Linked DNA regions of Homo sapiens: regions 2, 3, 4, 5 and 6 are each linked to region 1. Evidence: promoter capture Hi-C in 16 types of primary human blood cells and fetal thymus (Javierre and others, 2016). All regions are on one chromosome and are shown on one strand. Each heading gives the region's core, a stretch centred on a gene start or on the middle of the fragment in contact. The rest is flanking DNA. Distances are from core to core; before and after follow the strand shown.

What was found. The method cuts DNA at HindIII sites, captures the fragments that hold promoters and counts their contacts. A CHiCAGO score of 5 or more calls a contact.
Region 2: the fragment with the promoter of TRAF6 here is called in contact with the fragment with the promoter of FJX1 in region 1 in 9 of 17 cell types (naive CD4 T cells, monocytes, total CD8 T cells and 6 more); the score reaches 10.8 in naive CD4 T cells.
Region 3: a contact is called between a fragment that was not itself captured here and the fragment with the promoter of FJX1 in region 1, in 2 of 17 cell types (naive CD4 T cells and total CD4 T cells). The highest score is 6.5, in naive CD4 T cells.
Region 4: a contact is called between a fragment that was not itself captured here and the fragment with the promoter of FJX1 in region 1, in 16 of 17 cell types (erythroblasts, megakaryocytes, M0 macrophages and 13 more). The highest score is 25.5, in erythroblasts.
Region 5: a contact is called between a fragment that was not itself captured here and the fragment with the promoter of FJX1 in region 1, in 11 of 17 cell types (M0 macrophages, erythroblasts, naive CD8 T cells and 8 more). The highest score is 8.5, in M0 macrophages.
Region 6: a fragment that was not itself captured here is called in contact with the fragment with the promoter of FJX1 in region 1 in 1 of 17 cell types (erythroblasts); the score reaches 5.2 in erythroblasts.

Annotation. Positions count from the first base shown.
Region 1 is chr11:35,616,643-35,619,709 of GRCh38, forward strand. FJX1 (four-jointed box kinase 1) reads left to right here and starts at 1,818. Exons shown (of 1, transcript NM_014344.4): 1 at 1,818-3,067. The coding sequence starts at 1,995. RefSeq lists silencers at 1,406-1,495, 1,526-1,855, 1,677-1,838, 1,936-2,005, 2,026-2,285 and 1 more and enhancers at 2,138-2,772, 2,773-3,067. The HindIII fragment of the contact is 8,334 bases long and covers 1-3,067 here.
Region 2 is chr11:36,508,724-36,511,790 of GRCh38, forward strand. It overlaps TRAF6 (TNF receptor associated factor 6), which reads right to left and starts at 1,549. Exons shown (of 7, transcript NM_004620.4): 1 at 1,325-1,549. It also overlaps a transcript of RAG1 not described here. RefSeq lists an enhancer at 1,368-1,417. The HindIII fragment of the contact is 10,105 bases long and covers 1-3,067 here.
Region 3 is chr11:36,491,865-36,494,931 of GRCh38, forward strand. It overlaps TRAF6 (TNF receptor associated factor 6), which reads right to left. Exons shown (of 7, transcript NM_004620.4): 6 at 687-764. Among named protein-coding and RNA genes, the nearest start is that of TRAF6, 17 kb to the right of the region's middle. The HindIII fragment of the contact is 9,692 bases long and covers 1-3,067 here.
Region 4 is chr11:36,257,625-36,260,691 of GRCh38, forward strand. No RefSeq gene overlaps it. Among named protein-coding and RNA genes, the nearest start is that of COMMD9, 30 kb to the right of the region's middle. The HindIII fragment of the contact is 198 bases long and covers 1,363-1,560 here.
Region 5 is chr11:36,239,279-36,242,345 of GRCh38, forward strand. No RefSeq gene overlaps it. Among named protein-coding and RNA genes, the nearest start is that of COMMD9, 49 kb to the right of the region's middle. The HindIII fragment of the contact is 2,195 bases long and covers 547-2,741 here.
Region 6 is chr11:36,180,727-36,183,793 of GRCh38, forward strand. All of the region lies in intron 4 of LDLRAD3 (low density lipoprotein receptor class A domain containing 3), which reads left to right. Among named protein-coding and RNA genes, the nearest start is that of COMMD9, 110 kb to the right of the region's middle. RefSeq lists a silencer at 1,813-2,107. The HindIII fragment of the contact is 1,362 bases long and covers 787-2,148 here.

The DNA of each region.
Region 1 (3,067 bases), core at 568-3,067:
CTCATTATCAGATAAGAGTTATAAAATGGCATGGTATAGCCACCATGTGGTTGGGAACAGATTCAACAGTTCATCCAGTATGTACTTAACCACACCAGTGAAAACACTTGACTGTATCCTGGGTCAGTGCTGCAATACTCCAAATGTGGTTTTTTGATGCCTCTGCTCAGCCATAAACATAAGAGTGTCTGCTTTATCACCCTGGAACGCTCTATCACCCTAGAACGTTTTTTCTTTGGAGAATAAAACATAATCAGTGCCAACTGATGAGGTAGTCCAGTTGAAAACCCCCATGTGCACCTGATGGGAAGATGAAAGGAGAGAAAAGATACACACCATGTAAGGAAACAGATTTCAAACTCTGGCCTTTGAGAGGTGGATTCCACCATGCCCCTGATCTTGTGTCTACCCTGGGAATCTCAGTGTGGATCTGGGACTCATTCTGATACAGAGAGGTAAGGGAGGGCCGACTGGCATCCAAGTTTTCCTGGTAAATGTAACCCAGAGGTGGCTGGAAGATGTGTTGGGGTGAAGAGGTTGTTCATTTTGTTTTCTTTGCTCCTTCACCACCTCCCTCCCCCACCACCACCACCATTTCTTTTTCCCTTAAATCGTAAAAGCAGTAAATCAAATGCAGTATGGGATTGAGGTTTTTTTCCTTTCCATTTGAAAAATCCTTTTAATTGAAAAATCACATTTGGGGAACAAAGTGGTCAAATGACAGTGAATTTCAAACTTGAGAATGCTGACTTGATTAAAAAAAAAATACTGATCTTTCTTAATGGAGGGAAAATCAAGTGCATGCGGCCAGGAGACCTGAGTTTGACTTTTAGCTTCGCCCCTTGCTAATTGTGCAATCCTGAGCAACACCCATCCCTTCTCTGTGCCTCAGTTTCCTCATGGACAAAACGGTATCATTTCTTTCGAAAAGTCGTCCCTGACTCCCCTCTCCCCAACACGAGGTTGGATGGCTATAATCTCTCTTAGCAACCTGAGAGTCCCACTGGAATGTAAATTTCAGCAGCACTGGGACCCGGATCTGTGGATTTTGCTTCTGGTAAGCAGAACCAGAACTGAGGGGCAGTCGCTGTGTTGAATGGATGCATGAATGAATGGGAGATGGCCTAGGTGTTCAAGGGGCACGTGCACAGCGAGGCTTCATTCCCTGGGAGTCCGTTGGGAAAGGCAGAGCGGCCAATACTGATTGGTGCTGATGTGCGAGCTCGGAAAAGGGAGTGTCGGTTCAAAGTTGTTGGCTACAGCGGGTTCCTCTTTCCGCTGGAATCACATCCTCTGTGGCTCGGAGACATTCCCAGAGATTTACATAAAGCAGCGTGAATCACCCAGACAGAAACTGAGAAAGCAAAGGGACCCTGCCTGATCCTAGCCTGGCGGAGCTCGGAAAGAGGTGGAAATCTGTCTGAAGTTTGCAGGAGACCCGCGCTGCCTAGGCAAAGGGACCCGGCGACCAAGACACCCCCGCGAGGGCCCAGGGCGCGTCCCTCCCGCCAGGCCCCAGACTCCGGCTCTGCGCCACCCCCTCCTACGCCCCGGCGCGGGCGCAGCCAGTCCGGCTTCCTCCAGGCCCCCAAGTCCCGGACCGAGTGTGGGGCCGCCTCTCCCTCTCGGAAGGAGCCATCGCCGCTTTAAGTGGAAGAGGAGAGGAAGGGGGCGGGGGAGCGGGGGGCGGGGAGCGGAGGCGGAGGAGGGGGAGGGGGATCCCCCTGGCTCCCACGTGGTCCGGGCGCCTGTGAATCGCGCCCACCGGAGGGTCTCACAGCGAAATACAAAAGCAGCTGGGAAGCGGCGGGGACTCGAGTTCCCAGCGCCGGGCGGAGCGCCGGACAGAGCCCCGCAGCGCCCCGCGGCCGCGATGGGGCCGAAGCGCCCGAAGCCCCGGAGCCCACAAACTGCCGGGCCCGCCTCGCCGCCGGGACCCGGGTGCCTGGGCTCGGCTTGAAGCGGCGGCGGCGCACCGGCACAGCCGCGGGAGCATGGGCAGGAGGATGCGGGGCGCCGCCGCCACCGCGGGGCTCTGGCTGCTGGCGCTGGGCTCGCTGCTGGCGCTGTGGGGAGGGCTCCTGCCGCCGCGGACCGAGCTGCCCGCCTCCCGGCCGCCCGAAGACCGACTCCCACGGCGCCCGGCCCGGAGCGGCGGCCCCGCGCCCGCGCCTCGCTTCCCTCTGCCCCCGCCCCTGGCGTGGGACGCCCGCGGCGGCTCCCTGAAAACTTTCCGGGCGCTGCTCACCCTGGCGGCCGGCGCGGACGGCCCGCCCCGGCAGTCCCGGAGCGAGCCCAGGTGGCACGTGTCAGCCAGGCAGCCCCGGCCGGAGGAGAGCGCCGCGGTGCACGGGGGCGTCTTCTGGAGCCGCGGCCTGGAGGAGCAGGTGCCCCCGGGCTTTTCGGAGGCCCAGGCGGCGGCGTGGCTGGAGGCGGCTCGCGGCGCCCGGATGGTGGCCCTGGAGCGCGGGGGTTGCGGGCGCAGCTCCAACCGACTGGCCCGTTTTGCCGACGGCACCCGCGCCTGCGTGCGCTACGGCATCAACCCGGAGCAGATTCAGGGCGAGGCCCTGTCTTACTATCTGGCGCGCCTGCTGGGCCTCCAGCGCCACGTGCCGCCGCTGGCACTGGCTCGGGTGGAGGCTCGGGGCGCGCAGTGGGCGCAGGTGCAGGAGGAGCTGCGCGCTGCGCACTGGACCGAGGGCAGCGTGGTGAGCCTGACACGCTGGCTGCCCAACCTCACGGACGTGGTGGTGCCCGCGCCCTGGCGCTCGGAGGACGGCCGTCTGCGCCCCCTCCGGGATGCCGGGGGTGAGCTGGCCAACCTCAGCCAGGCGGAGCTGGTGGACCTAGTACAATGGACCGACTTAATCCTTTTCGACTACCTGACGGCCAACTTCGACCGGCTCGTAAGCAACCTCTTCAGCCTGCAGTGGGACCCGCGCGTCATGCAGCGTGCCACCAGCAACCTGCACCGCGGTCCGGGCGGGGCGCTGGTCTTTCTGGACAATGAGGCGGGCTTGGTGCACGGCTACCGGGTAGCAGGCATGTGGGACAAGTATAACGA
Region 2 (3,067 bases), core at 299-2,798, 890 kb after region 1:
CTACAAATGTACTCCAATGGCCAAGAGATGCTGCAAAATACTCAACTGTTGTGCCTTAACTTTGAATCCAAATTCAAGGGGCATTCCCCTTCCTGGGCACTATTTACTCTGCTCCAGGAGGCAAGGATTTGAACTTCTCTCCAAATCTAAGTGTCCAAAAGTTTACCGGCATCACATGCCCAAATTTATCACAGAGAAGAGCTCATGTTACAATTCTGAAATATTGTGGTGCATGCAGGCTGAAACTCTGATGTGATCCTGTACCCACCACATGCCGGACTCCTTCCTAGAGTCACAAAAGAGGCCACATTGTTCCTGCCTATACACTCAACCTCAAAATTTGAAAAGCCCCTCTCCCTTCCCTAGTAATCAAAGGAGAATGAATGAAATGATAGCGGCCAAGTTCACAAGGCCAACACAGAATTTCTTTACCAGTTTTTCTCGTTTCTACATGGAACCTGTGTAACAAGACATTCAGTAATAGTAATCTGCTCTCAGAGAAAGAAACAATTAAATACCATACAGCGAAGCTGCTAATACTTTATTTAGGTGCTTTCTGTTCACATTCAAGACAGTCCTAACTCAGCTGGAGTTCCCCTTAAGCCAAATACTAGGAACAGCTTTATCAACCCGGCGTCTGGAACAATCGCTCGAACTACCGAGTTTAGGGGCGGGGGAGAAAACATTCGTGTCATCTGAGCCTTTTTTTTTTTTTAAACTCGCTGCCTGAGACTTCTATAGAGTTCAACAGGGAATCCAAAAATAGCTTTCCCATGACAGTGACAGCCGGAGTCGCCAGGAACGTAAAGGATTTTTTAAAAATTTAAGCAGGTGTTTGCTCCAAGGAGCGGACAACTGCAGGAGGCAATTTCCTTATCTGGGAAGGGGAAAAAGCGGAGTTGAGGGGAGCGAGGTTGAGTAAGGCGACGCGGGGTTTTTTAGGGGGTGGAATGAGCGAGGAAGAGGAGGCCTGGGGAGCAGAGGTCAGGGGACAGGGAACGGTGTCCCCGACCTGTGGGAAGCGTGGGGACAGAGGCTGCGTCCCGACCTGCAGGAAGCGAGGGGCAGGGAACGGTGTCCTCGACCAGCGGGAAGCGAGAGGACAGGGGCGGCGTCCCCGACCCGTGGGAAGCAAGCGGGTAGGGGCGGCGTCCCTGACCTGTGAAAAGCGAAGGGACAGGGGAGGCGTCCCCGACTGGTGGGAAGCGAGGGGACAGGGACTGCGTCCCCGACCTGCCGAGAGCGAAGGGGCGGGGGGCGGCGTCCCTGACCGCTGGGAAGCGAGGCGGCGGCCGCCAGGAGGAGGCGCCTGAAGGAGACTCACCGTTCTAGTGCGCGGGGAGGCCGAACCAGGAGGGCAGGGCTCCCCCACCAACCGCACGACTCCGCTCAGCCAAGGCGCTGGTAGAGGACGGACACAGACACTGCGCGCCGAGACGAGGCTGCTTGGACGGCAAACTCTGGATCCAGTGGGAGCCTTCGCCACCTTCGCTGGCCGCCCGCAGGCCAAGCCCCAGCTGCGGACGCCACTGCTTCCGCCTTCTCTGCTGGCTGCGGGGAGCGAGGGGCAGGGAGCGCGCCGGGGAGGAGACAGAGCGGCCGAGTTCGGAGAGAGTGCCCCCTGGCGGTGATCCTCCAGGCGGACTGTGGCGCGGGCCGGGCGGCGCCCCCAGCCCCGCAGCCTGGCTTTCTTCCTGCTCGGGTGTCCCACCTGGGAATTCGTTGCACCGCACAGCCGAACCCGAGTGTGTCAATGGGTGTGTGTTGGAATGAGGATGGCGACGAGAAGATCCCTCCCGGAATAACTTAATTTGGTGAGCAGTGGCGACAGTAGTAATCCCAAACTGCGCTTTTATAGCACCCCTCTCCAAGCAGGAGAAAACCCCAGCTGGGCTAGATCGCTTGACCTTCAGGAATTCTTAAACCCCTCCCCAGCTCCACCCTCCTTGCCCAGGAAGTTTCTGCGATCCATAGAACCCTCTATTATTACCTGCTCTTCCCCTTCATCCGGTCCAAGGGAGTCAGCCCTTGCCTTAAATATTTCTTTGAATTTCCTGCCAAGAACACCAGCGCTTTGTCTTTCTCTGTCATGGGAAAACTATTTTAAATTCCCTGTTTAACTGGTCATAAACGTCTAGAGAATGTACCACGCGTTTTGCTGGAGAAGCACAAAAGAGTTTCATCCACCTCTGCATATTTGGTTCATCGTCCACCTCTTAGGGGAGGTTTTCCAGGATAGTAGTCATGCGTATGTATCCTGAAGCCAGAATGCTTGGTTCCAATCCGGTTTTTCCTACAATAAATGTGTGATTCAGGTAAAATACTTAATCTGTACTTGTTTCAGTTTTCTCATCTCGTATTAACATGGGGATAATAATAGTATCTACCTCACAGGGTTGTTGGAAGGATGAGATAAAATATGTAAAGAAATTATTTAAAACTATCTGGCCAGGCACAAATAGGCTCATGCCTATAATCCCAGTACTTTGGGAGGCTAAGGCAGGAGGATCACTTGAGGCCAGGAATTTGAGACCAGCCTGGGCAACATAGTGAGACCCCATCTTTACACAAAATTTAAAAATTACCTGGGTGTGGTGGTGCATATCTGTAGTCTCGGCTACTCTGGAGGCTGAGGTGGGAGGATGGCTTGAGCCCTGGCAGTCAAGGCTACAGTAAGCCATGATTGCACCACTGCATTCCAGCCTGGGTGACAGAGTGAGACCCTGTCTCAAGGAACAAACGAACAAACAAATAAACCCAAAACTAGGACATAGTATGGGCTCAATAAATGTTACCAATACTATATGTCCTACTTTCTGGCTGCCAATATTCATTAAAAATGCTTCTCTTTTTAAGAAGAATTTATCACTGGTTCTCAGGTTCTGTCAACCCCCTTTTAAAAGATTGTATTTTGAAACACTTAAGACATAAAAAGAGCACAAACATCTGTGTGCTCACCACCCAGCTTTAAAAAATAAAACATTGCCAGCCTTTGTGTATCCCTCCCTAGAAGCTCCTCTTAAAAATTAAATCTCTTATGGGATGGAAGAAAAGATCATTATATGAA
Region 3 (3,067 bases), core at 266-2,765, 870 kb after region 1:
TGTTCCCTAGCTGGGTGAAGTCATTATCTGTAATTCAATACATTAAAACAGATTTTTTTTTTAAACTCTACCTCCAGTCAGTTCTTCCTGTGTTCACTCTTTTTTGCCGAATGGCCCTTCCATCTACCCAGTGACAAAGGCCAGAAACCAAGAGTCATTCTAGACGCCTCCCTCTCCTTCACTCATCACATTTATTTAGTCACACAGGCAGTAGATCTTCTCTCCTAAATATGTACTGGCTCCTAGGTCTATCTTGACGGTCATCGCCATAATTCAAGCTGTCTTCACTTAGGTATTCCAACAGCTCAGGTACTAGTACCCCCACCTCCACCTCAAATCATCTACATTGCTATTGGGTTGAACTAGCACAACACAAACTACTTGTAGTTCCTCAAATCACCATGCTCACTCTTTCTCACTGGTCTTCTCTCCTTTGTCTTCTTGGAAAACTATTTCACCTGTCAAGATTCAGCCCAAAGCATCATGTTTTGTCAAGTCTGTCTGAATGCTTTAGGCATTGCTAAGTATGCCTTTGCTTCTGCTCACAGCATCCATGAATAACTCTATTATATCACTTATTACACTGCTTTACAACTACATCTACATTCTTGTTGTTATTCTCCACTACATGATGTAAATATTTTTTTTTACTTATATTCAAGAATTAAAAGAAAAAAAAACCTTACCTTTTCATGGCAACCAAAAGTACTGAATGTGCATGGAATTGGGGCTGTAGGGCAGTCTAGATCATAATGATTAGGCATCTGAAATCCAAAACAAAGGCTGAAAAATCTCTTCCTTGCATATCATTTTCTAGTTTGATGCGATCACATTTAAACTGTATTGTCAATGGCTGCTTTGTACCACATTGGCAGTTGAATAGGTGCAGCATAAACCATCACCCACAAAAATTAAAAGAACATCTACTTTCAAAAGTTATAGAGAAAGGAAATATCAACATCTCATAATATCCCCTCCAATTATCCAAAATTCATTTCAAGAAAATGAATTTGTTCCTCTTGCTGGGAACTGGCACCCTCTAGTGGCACTTTACAGAAAAAACACCTAACAATAGCTACAAGTGCAAACTGGATTAAGACTCCCACTATGGTCTAGGCCATTTAATAGGAACCAGTCAACTGCATGCACTGAAGCCACTGACTACACCCATACTTGCCTCATGACCACCTCTCAAAAATCATCTTTGACCACCTTTCAACAATCTTCTTAACTTTTGTTAAGCTGGGCATATTTTAGCTACAATGGGGAGACTCAGATGTTAGAAGGTACTTTAAACACATTAATAGAAGCTCTAAAAAAAGTCTCAGTCCTGGATTTTGGGACTCTAAGACACATTCTCTAAGGTAAGATCCTTTATACTCAATCATATTTTTTCAAAGAGGTGCCAAATTCCCTTTAGAAATTTAATGTAGCTATAGTTGTAGATATTTCAAACAGGAAGTACCTGAGAGACCATTTATTATAATTCAATCCTTCATTTCTCAAGAGGGAACAGTGTAGAACAGGGGCCAATAAAATTTTTTGTAAAGGATCAGATAGTAAATATGGGCTGTACTGCCTCTGTCCTAAGTATTAAACTCTACCATTGTCATACAAAAGTAGCCATACACAAGACATACACACATGGGTATGACTGTCTTTCAATAAAACTTTATTTACAAAAACAGGTAGAGAGACAGATCTAGCTGGCAGGCCAGTTTGCTGATCCCAGATCTATTTAGAATGTCAACTTGTTAAAGATGAGAGGGCACAGTTAAAATCACAGTTTAAACCTAGGACTAAAACCCAGGTTTTCTGACTCTTAGCCTAGGGTTTTTTCTTGTATTTTCTTTTGCTGGGTTTTAATTTGTTGCATGGTTTCCTTTAAATGTTAAAAGACAGCAAAAAGGAAAACGAGTTAGGACTTCATAAGCAAAAGATGTTTAACACCTTCAAATTAAGGCTTTGTTGGAAAAATTAAGAGACTGTTAACAAACCAATGAAAAAGTTTTAAGGTTAACAAACTTGTCCAGTGACAGGTTTTGCTTGCTGCTTCTCAGTAAGGTATATCAATAATGATCTCTGGGTTTACAGATTTCATGGGTATATAAATATTTAATGGTTAATATTCATATTTTGTGGGTAAACTCCCCAAATGTCAGAAGATAGCAATCAGATGGAATTTTCCTTTCTCTACTAATAGTCAAAACAATCTTTGGGCTGGGCTTGGTGGCTCACACCTATAATTCTAGCACTGTGGGAGGCTAAAGCAGGTAGATTGCTTGAGCTCAGGAGTTCGAGACCAGTCTAGGCAATATAACAAGACCCCGTTTCTACAAAAAATCTAAAAAAATAAAAAATTAGCCGGGCATGGTGGTGCACGCCCGTAGTCCCAGCTCTTTGGGAGGCTGAGGTAGGAGGATCGCCTGAGCCAGGAATTTGAGGCTGCAGTGAGCCATGACTGTGTCAATGCACTCCAGCTTAGGCAACAGAGTGAGACTCTATCTCAAGAAACAAAAAAACCCCACCATATAATTTTCTATTACAATTACTACTTCTAATGATGCCCGGTCAGTGGCCTACAGGACAACTGAACAGAAGGGCTACAGGTCCTAAAAATCTGAAAACTTCCCTGTATGCCTCAGGGATTACAGCTACAAATATTATTCTCCTACTGAACAGAACTGCCTTCCTTTATTTCGCTGTTCCCTCTTATTCTTTCAGCCAATCTCTGGACACTTGAGATCCTCATTTCACAGTGTGTAAATATATATATATATATCTTAGTTTTTTCTTTCTTTAAATGGGGACCCTTACTTTTGATTATTTTTATCTTAAAATTGGTTTTGTTGGGAATTTTTATGAATATACAAAAGCACAGGTATTATGTTAATGACTTAGGAATTTTAAGTACTTAAAAAGGGCTGGATGTTTTGTTCTCCCTGAAAGTATTTATTACTTATATTAATTTATATAAAAAATTTTCACACAGCTCTAATACTTCTTCAATCTGTATTTCTTTGCCTTATTGATTTAAATTTTCAATTAAAAAACCTAATTCACTTCT
Region 4 (3,067 bases), core at 212-2,711, 640 kb after region 1:
ACTTCTTCTGTGACCAGGGCCTCTGATAGCCCTGTTCCCCTCCCTGCATGTTGTTTGTATCTTCTTTTCCTAGTTTTCTTTGATTCAGATAAGCTCAGGGGCTCCTGAGCCGATCTTGTCTTCCTTTGATGGATGGGTGGCAAGGGAGTAGGGCTGGGGCCAGGGGCCCGTCTGTGGAGGGTGGAGGCAGATGGCGTGGGGCAAGGCAGCAGGCAGGTAGGAGAAATGAAAGGGCTTCACATCAAAGAAAGAGAAGCCAATCAACTGGAGTATTCTCTGTCCTCTGAGATTGGATCTGAGCTCTAATTTGTGAATCTTAGTTAAGTTTTGAAAACCAAAAGCAAGGGGCTGCTGGACCTCCTGCCTAACAAAAGTGTTTGTTGAAAAGATTCAGAACCGTGACAAAGATATAGCTCCCGCAGAGCTCTAAAGAGAAGGGAATTCAAGCTCCAGAAGGTGGGGACCCCACAGTGAAAATGACAAACAGGGTTCACACTCTCCTAGAGCTTGTCTTCCAGTGGGAGTACACAGACAATGCCAAACAAGATCATTTCAGCAAGTGTGATATGTAAAAAAGATGCTCTGTGACTTTGGGTTGAGTGGTCAAGGAAGCCTCCCTGAGAAGGTCACACTGGGGCTGAACCCTGCGCAGCCACATGTGGATCTGGGGGAAGTGTATTCTAGGGTGACCAAAGAGTTGGTGCCAAGGTCTTGTGCAGAAGGGAGTTCAATGTGATTGAGGAACAGAGGGAGGTCAGCATGCCTGGGGAAAGTGCAGGGAGGAGAGGGGGCCCACTGAGCCGGGGAGGCTGGGACAAGGAGCGCAGGTGTTATGGTGAGCCTCGTGGCAGGTTTTAAGTGTAAGAGTGATGACATCTGATGGGTTTAAAGTGACCACTCAGCCATCTGGCACAGAATGGATTTCAGGGGACAACAGAAGGGGTGAAGCCTGTTAGGAGGATGTCAGGAGTCCAGGTGAGGGCTACACCTAAACTAGTGTGGACAGTGGGACTGAAGGGCATGGCAAATGGCCCCACGTTGTGAACAGAGAAGAGAACCGCTCTTTACAACTCGTGAGGGAGCGATCACAAAGGAGCCTCACTTGACGGTGCCACAGGGTGGGGCTCTGAGGAAAGGAGGCAGATCACAGCCAGGTCTGCACTGTCTAGGATAAAAAGGGTTTGGGAGGAGTACCTGATTCCAGCCCCATTCCTAGCATGAGCGAGTCTCTTTTATCCCAGGGCTCAGCAGATGGGAGGGCAGGCGACTTACCCCGGGACTGGGCAGCTGATGGCGGGCCTTCTTTCTGGACTAGTGCTCCCCCTGCAGGAATCGCTGAATGCATAGCTTAGAAAAGTGAGAAGCTTCAGGATGAGGCCAGGACACGTGTGTAGTGAGGCCCAGAGTTCTGTGTTGTGGTAGCCTCTGAGCCCTGGCAGCTCCAGCCCTGGGGAGGACTATCCGTGCAGCTTCCACTGTTTGTCTGGATGGAGTACAGAGCTTCCGCAGGTGCTCCATCTTCGTCGGCAGCAAGGTTCAGAGGGAAAAGGTCCAGGACAAAGCTTAAGGAAGGACAGGTCAGCAGGGACCCACTTCTTCCTACTCTCCCACAGCTGGCCAGGCTCCCAGCAGCCCCACCTCCAGCATGCAGGAGCAGCTGGGGACTGCTGGGCTGGAGACGGCATGAAGGTGCTGTAGAGGCACCCCTGGGAACCACTGTGCTGGTGGAGAGGGACAGAAGAGAGGAGAAAGAGCTTCAGAACAAATGCAGACCACTCAAGACTTGGTTCTCCCTGGGGCAACCTCCCAGACCTAAGTCCATTCACTCACTCACTCACCAATATTTGAGACACCAGTGATATAGCCAAGAGGCAAAATGAGGAAAGAAGCAGGGAAGGAAGAAAAGAAGGGAGGGAGGAAAAAGAGAAAGGGATGGAGGAAAAGGGCACAGGCCCCGCCCTTATAAACCTCATAGCCTAGTAGAAAAAAAAACAGGAATCAAAGAATTACAGGCCCATGAGTTGGAGGTTCCAGCCAGACTGAATGAGCGTGAATTCCTGCAGTCAGTTCTGAGCCCTTCACTGTCTCCTCTGAGCCTTTGCATGCGCTGTCCCTCTGCCTGGCCATCTTCCCTGTGTCCCTCCCTCCTTTATCAGGGGAGGGAGCAGAACTGAGGCTGGGCCAGTAGGACATGTTCACTGGGGCAGCTAAAGGCTCAATTGAGGTCTGAGGAGGGGAGACTAGCAGGGCAAATAGTCCTGCCGCTGCTATCCGTAGACGCTTCTCATTCAGAGGGACCATGGCCTGGGGGGCTTTCTTGTGATGACCCTCAGCAGTGACATGAGTGGGATGGGGTTTCCAGTCCCCATGGCATGTGCTTCCCCTCAACCTTTCACCAACGACCTACCACGTGCCAAAGACTAAGCACTGGGGATAGAAGGTGAACGAGACTGGTGTGGCCCCCCGCCCTGCTCTCAGACCTGCCAATCTCCAGGGTTTGTTTTCTTGAGACTCCTGACGCTGCCTGGCCCGAGTCAGCACTAGGGATTCCTGATCTCTGCATATCCCTTCCCAGCCATCCAAGATAGCAAGAGCTGTTACCCTCTGGCTAACTCTTACTTATGCTTCCAGTCTCAGTCAGATGTCATGTCCCCAGCTCAGCCTCCCCGGGGGTCCCTTGACATGGTCCACAACCCCTGTACCTCCCCATCATTGCCCTGGGCCAGAACAGGCTCTGACTGTGTCTCAATAGAGACAAAAAAACTCTGAGATCACAATACCACTTTGGCTTCCTAATTTTCTGTCCAATCTTTGGGGGGCCAGTGCCAACCAGGCCTTGAAGACTGATATTCCTCTATGGGATGAGAGATGCTTGCCTCCCTCTCTGGACTCTTATGGGACCAGCAAAGGGGATCCAGCCTTTCTTGTCGTCAGAAGGCATGAGCTGTAAATGTGATTCCCCAACCTGGCTGCATGTGCAACGCTTGGGGAATTCCTAAAAATACAGATGCCTGGGACTCTGACTCCAAAGACACTGCCTCAGGAGATCTGTGCTGAGATCTGGGCA
Region 5 (3,067 bases), core at 394-2,893, 620 kb after region 1:
TATTCTAACACCAAAAGCTAGTAAATACTCAATCTCGGATGTGAGCTCAAAGCCCAGGCTCTAATCACTGTTTTACCCTTACCATCATTTTAGATGAGTGATGTCCCCTCCTTTTTCTGTTTGCTGTTACTTTTGGGGAAATTGGTGCGGGGCAGTCACTGCCTTCCACCTTCAAGTGAAGACATCAGGCTTGGATTGAAATGTCTACTTCCTGCCTTCAGGTTCTAGAGCAGGACTGGATGTTTCTTCCCTAGGGGTTATTTGCTGCCTTGCTGCTCTCAAAATCAATCAGTTCCCTAAAGCCATGGTTCTCCTTCTACCAAATGGTTGGAAATCTGTGCAGTTTTCGGGGCTGAATCCAGGGCCTCTGGAGAAATGCAGCTTTGCCAGGCAGGGCTGGCTTTGCAGAAGCTCTTCTTTTTAGCTGAGTTTCCAGGGTTTCGGCTCACATGACTTTGGTGTCCCTGTACCCCAACCCCCACTGCAGGGATCCCTGGACCCCAGAGGGTGTTTTGGCATTTTGTTGTACTTCTCATCTGAGTCCAAAGCTTACTTGGGGTGGATTTGTCTCTGGCAGTAAACAACCACAGACTGTGGATGGTGCCGTGGCAGATGCTCCTCTGGAGAGAGGCTCTCAGTCTGGGCACATACCCACTGCCTGTCTGGGCAGAACTAAAGGAGTGAGCCAGAAGAACAGTCCTCACTCTGCGACTTCCCAGTTTAATTGCTTCTTCACATCTGTGGTTTTCTTTTTTTAATTTTTCTTTCTTTTTTTTTTTTTTTTTTTTTAGAGATAGGGTCTCGCTCTGTCACCCAGGCTGGAGTGTAGTGATGCAGCCACAGCTCACTGCAGCATTCAATCCTCCTGCTTTACCCTCCCCTGTAGCTAGGACTACAGGCATAGGCCACCGCACCTGGATTTTTTTTATTTTTTATTTTTTTTATTTTTTGTAGATACAGGGTCTTGCTATGTTGCCCAGGCTGGTCTCGAATTCCTGGTCTCAAGCAATCCTCTTGCCTCCACCTCCAAAATGCTGGGGCTACAGCTGTGAGCCACCACACCCACTCATATCTGTGGTTTCCCACTGACTTTGTCATCTTAATTCTGGTGTCATGAAACATTTCAGAGTTGGCAGAAACTGGGGGCAGGAAGCAGTCAGGAAGCCCCTGGACGAGAGGTCTGCTAGGAAGGGCTTGGCCCATTGGTATGAAGCCTGAGAGAGTGGGTTTGTGCCTGCACCCTGCTCAGAAGCCTCTTTCAAGCAAACGAGTGCTGATAGAATGGTTCTGCTCTTCACAATGAGATCCATGGCCCTTCCTACCACTCAGAATGGGCTCCTCTGTCATCTCAGGGTATGCCAGAAAGATACTCTGTTATGCACAATTCCCAAAGATAGACAAGCCCAGGCCAGTCCTGGCTTCCATGCACCCCAGGGCTTTTTCCGTGTCTAAGACCCTTCTCTATGCCTCAACAACCCTGTCTGTAAAATGGGAGAGAAACTGGCCAGCAGCCCAGGGAGAATCCCCATTCCAGAGAGTCTTGGTCCCAGTAGACAGGCATGGGGCTTGGCAGCACTGACAGCAGGGAAATTCTACCTCTCAAAGAAAGGGCTGGGGGAGGATTCTGAAGATAGTATCTCAATAGGCCTTATATCTTGACTAAATTGCATGTTGGAATTTAATTTGGAATCCCTGCTGTTTCCTTGATGAACGCAAACCACACTGCAATTAGAGTGATGAAGCGGGATGCTGCCGCGTCTGACAAGGGTGATCTGTCTAAGCAGGGAGGGAGGGGACAGGCAGTTGGCAGGTGCCTGGTGGACTCATGCTGGGCATATTCTCAGCATCTCTCCAACTAGACAGAGGCCATCAGGGGAGAGGAAGGAGTTCAGGGGACAGAGATTGTGTGGTCTAACAGCTCACGGGGCAGAGTGGAGGGGAGAGTTTCAGGGGACTTTCTTGGATTGTACTCCATGGCTTATCCACTGCAGTGTCCTGGGCCCACATGACACCAAGTACAGCAGATTAAGCTCATGACTTGTGTCTCAGAATCTCGCCTCTTCCACCCTCCCACTATGGAAGGAAATAAACATTTATTTAGCACTTCCTTTGTGCCAGGCACTGGGCTAGGTGCTCTAAAGGCATTATCTCATTTAATCCACCCAGCAATCTCATGAGATAGGCACTCTTATCTCCATTTTACACATGCAAAACCTGTGAGCCAAGAGGTTAAATAACTTGCACACAAGGTCACAGAGCTCATAAGTGATGACGGTAGGTAGGATCTTAACCCAATGGTCTGGGTCCAAGTTCCCTTTCCACCTTACCCATGCATCTGCCAAGGCCCCAGCCTTTGAGAGACTGAGCTGGTCTCTCCCTAATCATCTGCTACTTCCTCCAAAGGATTCTTGTTCCTGCTATCTGCACATCCCCATACTGGCTCATTGAAAGGGGAACCTGCTCTCTCTCCACCCTCCTTGCTACTTCTTCCCTGCTGGAGGAGGGCTAGCTTATCTGATGCATGCATGTAGGAGAGTTGCCAGTTGATGGGACCATATGAAACAGGTGCCCTGAGCATACCTGCCCTCCATCTCTGGGTGGAAAGCAGACTCTGCAGAGTCCACTGCTGGAAGCCTGAGCCAGGTGTTTGCTCTCTGACAACAGCTCTTCCATCTGGAACTAGATCGAATGCTCAGTGTGGCCATTTCTGCAGAGACATCACAGATAGAGGTAGAAAGAAAAGCTTCATTTGGCCTCAGTCTTGGTTGCGTACTCTCGAACCTGACTTTTAAGCCCCATTTTGTTCAGTTCTCTGTATTGATACATTATAGGCCAGAATTCAGGAAAGGAAGAAAGAGGCTATTGCTTCAAACCTAACCCCCAACTTACAGGCACTGGAGCTGGATATCCTTGCTCCCAGGCTGGGGTGTTGCAGTAGAGGAGACTTTTCCCAGAAACTGCCGCAGAGCACCCAGGCAAAGGATATTTCCTGCTGAGCTCCCAACACATTCTTCTTCCTGATACTCCAAATCCAAACCATCAGAGAGGAGATGCAAGAGAGCCAGAG
Region 6 (3,067 bases), core at 218-2,717, 560 kb after region 1:
GAGACTCTGGCTGTAATAAGGGGTAGGTGGGGGTTGGGGGTGGGGTGCGGATGGTGGCCAAGGCCAGCGTGTGCCAATTGGTGTGGTAAGAACGGTCAGTGCGGGCCATGCTTGGAAAGTAGAGACCATTGGAATTGCTTGTGGATTTGATGTAGAGTGTGAGAGAATCGCTAAGGATGGCACCAAGGTTTTTGGCCTAAAGAAATGGAAGGACGGAGCTACCAGTAACAGAGATGGGGCAGGGGCACACATTGCAGAAAGAACACATCAGGAACTCAGCTAGGGATATATTACCTCCTGAAATTCAGTGTGGCCTTGGGTAGCTGATCTCGGGCAGAGATTGGTGACTCTTGTCCCCGTGTGTGGCTCAATGTTAACTTTTTAACGATCAGATGCTGACCTCTCCCAATAAAATGTATTAACTGCTGGCACCACTTCAAAACTCTGGCTAGTCTTTAAAATAACTAGTTAGCTTTCATTACAAAAGTAATACCTACACATGGTAAAAAAAAAAAAAAAAATCTAAGAATTACAGGACTAAGGTGAAAAAATAAGCCTTCCTCACTACCCCTGCTTATTGTTCTCTGTCTTTTTGCAGCTATTTTTCCACAAATTACTGTGTCCTGAGCCCTGAGCTAATTAAGTGCTGGATAAGCATCACCTCCCAGTAATCCTGTTATCAGCCTTTGAAATGTAGGTAGCTTTATTATCCACATTTTGCAGATGAGGAAACAGAGTCAGGTGAAGTGTCTTTTCCAAGGCCAAGCTCCTGAGGGCAGGGGCTCAAGCTTAGGCCTTCAGACTCCAAAGTCCAGACCGTCCCTGGGAACAAGCACCCTAGGTTTTCACATGGAGCCTCCGAAACGCCTCTGGCATCTCCTGCTGTGGGGTTGGATATGAGCTGTCTTATATAGACCCTACCTAAATTAAATTAAAATCGACTAATTAAATGTGGCCTCTTTGAATACACTGCCGTATTTCTAATTACAGCTTTCCTTCTCTCCTGAGAAGGCAGCCCAACATTGTTTCTGAAAAGGTCCTCAATTACTAATGGTTGGATAACATTTTGAAAATGTAAGTGTCATTAAATTGTTAGTTAGAAGGCCCTGAGTGGGGATGAGAGGATGGAAGTCAGTTGTCAACCGTCTCCTCTCTCTCTCTGTTTCTGTCTCTGTCTCTCACACTTTCTCTCTCTCACTGTTTCTCTCTCTGTAATACACATATGCACATCCTTATCTCACAATTGACCCAAAGCATCAGAAATAAAAAGTCAGACTGAGTGACCTTAGCTGCTAGGAAGCATCTTATTGTGCCTTCCCTCCCTCTCTGACTTTGGCCTTGACACTGATCTGAGCCTGCAGATAACAGAAAGGAGGAGCTTATCTAGACAGGAGTGGTGGAAGTAGCCAGTAACAAATCATTGAAGTGAGGAGAATGAAGGTAAAGAAATTGATCAGCTTTAAATAGGAGGTGACTCCGCATTCCTCTTGCTTGGAAATGATCCCCAGGATGGAATTGTGTCCAGGGTGTGAGGTTGTTTGTGAATCAGTCCTTTCCAGATAGAATATATGAGGCTTGAAACTACATAGTGCTTATCACCAAGAGGTATATAGGTTTGTCAGAGCAAGAAGACCACTCTCCCCTCCACCTGCCCCCGCAAAAAAAAAGAAAGGTAGTATAGAGACTTAGAAAGTAGAGAAATATAGGTAGAAGTACAGTACCTTTGAGTGACCTTCAGAATTCGGTCCTCTTGGCTCAAAATTTTGGCATCATTTCAACAAACTATTTTTTTTCTCTCCTCATTTGATTTCCCCTTCAAGAAGACAGGGAGTGAGTGGGCTCCAATCTTGGCAACGTTGGCTGCTTATTAGAGCATTTGCAGGCCTAGGAGATTTGCTCCTCCTCTTGGTATCTGAAGTTCCACAAGCCCCTTGTTCACTTCCCCTGGAGTAGGGATTGTGGAATGTTGCCACTCACCTTCAGTTCCCTGTTGAAGCTCTTGCAGACCCCTAATAGTGCATGCTACCGTTCTGCAGAGAAGACCATGATGACAAACCACAGACATCCCCCTTCATCTATTGTCTTCTGTGTCTTTGGGAAGGCATTCCTGGAATGACTGGGGGCTGTGTGTCTCAGTTTAATAATGCAAGCTTTTGGTTTTTGTTAAACACATGCAGAGCCTGATATTAAGCATTAAACCAAGGAGCTAGGCTAAGACAGTTGTGTCAAGAAGTTGTTGTCTTTGAAGAAGCACAAGGAATTTAAAGGGATGAGGAAACAAGAAGGGGGCCTATCCAGTTGGGACCACAATACAAAATTGAATTTATCATTTATGAATAATGGCTTCTAGTTTTTGAGTACTTACAGGGTCCCAGGCACTGTAGATGGTGGGACGTAGACGGTGGGATGGTGGGAAGGTGGGAGACCCAGAGAGCTTAAGTGATCCAGCCCTAGACACACGGTGTTAGTTAACTTTTGGGAGACACTTCACAAGCTGGTGTGAATGAAAGAAAAGCAGCATGTACTTTTACAAACCTTAATTTAAGCAAAGGTAATAAATTTCAACCTACTCAAAGCAGAACTAGGGTGTGATTACTTGCTTTGTAAAAGATTTTTTGCTTTGGAAAGTTAGAAATACTGGTTTTCAAAATATGTTTTGATTTTCCTATCTAAACCTCTATTGGATTAAAGTAAAACATGTTGACCATATTACGTGGAGAAATATTGCACACTCTGTCCAGCTATGCTGGATGAAAAGGTTGCAGTCAGTGAAGGGTGAAAAACTTAGTCTAGTTTGGACAAGAAGAAAAAATTAACTTCTGAACTTTACCACCTAGATGTCACTACTCTAATACTTCTCAAAGTATAGATGGACACCACACCTGCTAATATTGCATGTTCCTGGGACTCAACCTAGTCTGAAGAATCAAAAGAGTGGTATTAGAGCCCCAGAATCCATGTTTTAATAAGCTCCAAAGGTGATTCTGCACCATAATTTGAATTTCCTTTAGATCACCTCAATCCATATCTGTTAACCTCTCGTCCATATTTTCTCTTTTTGTGTCTC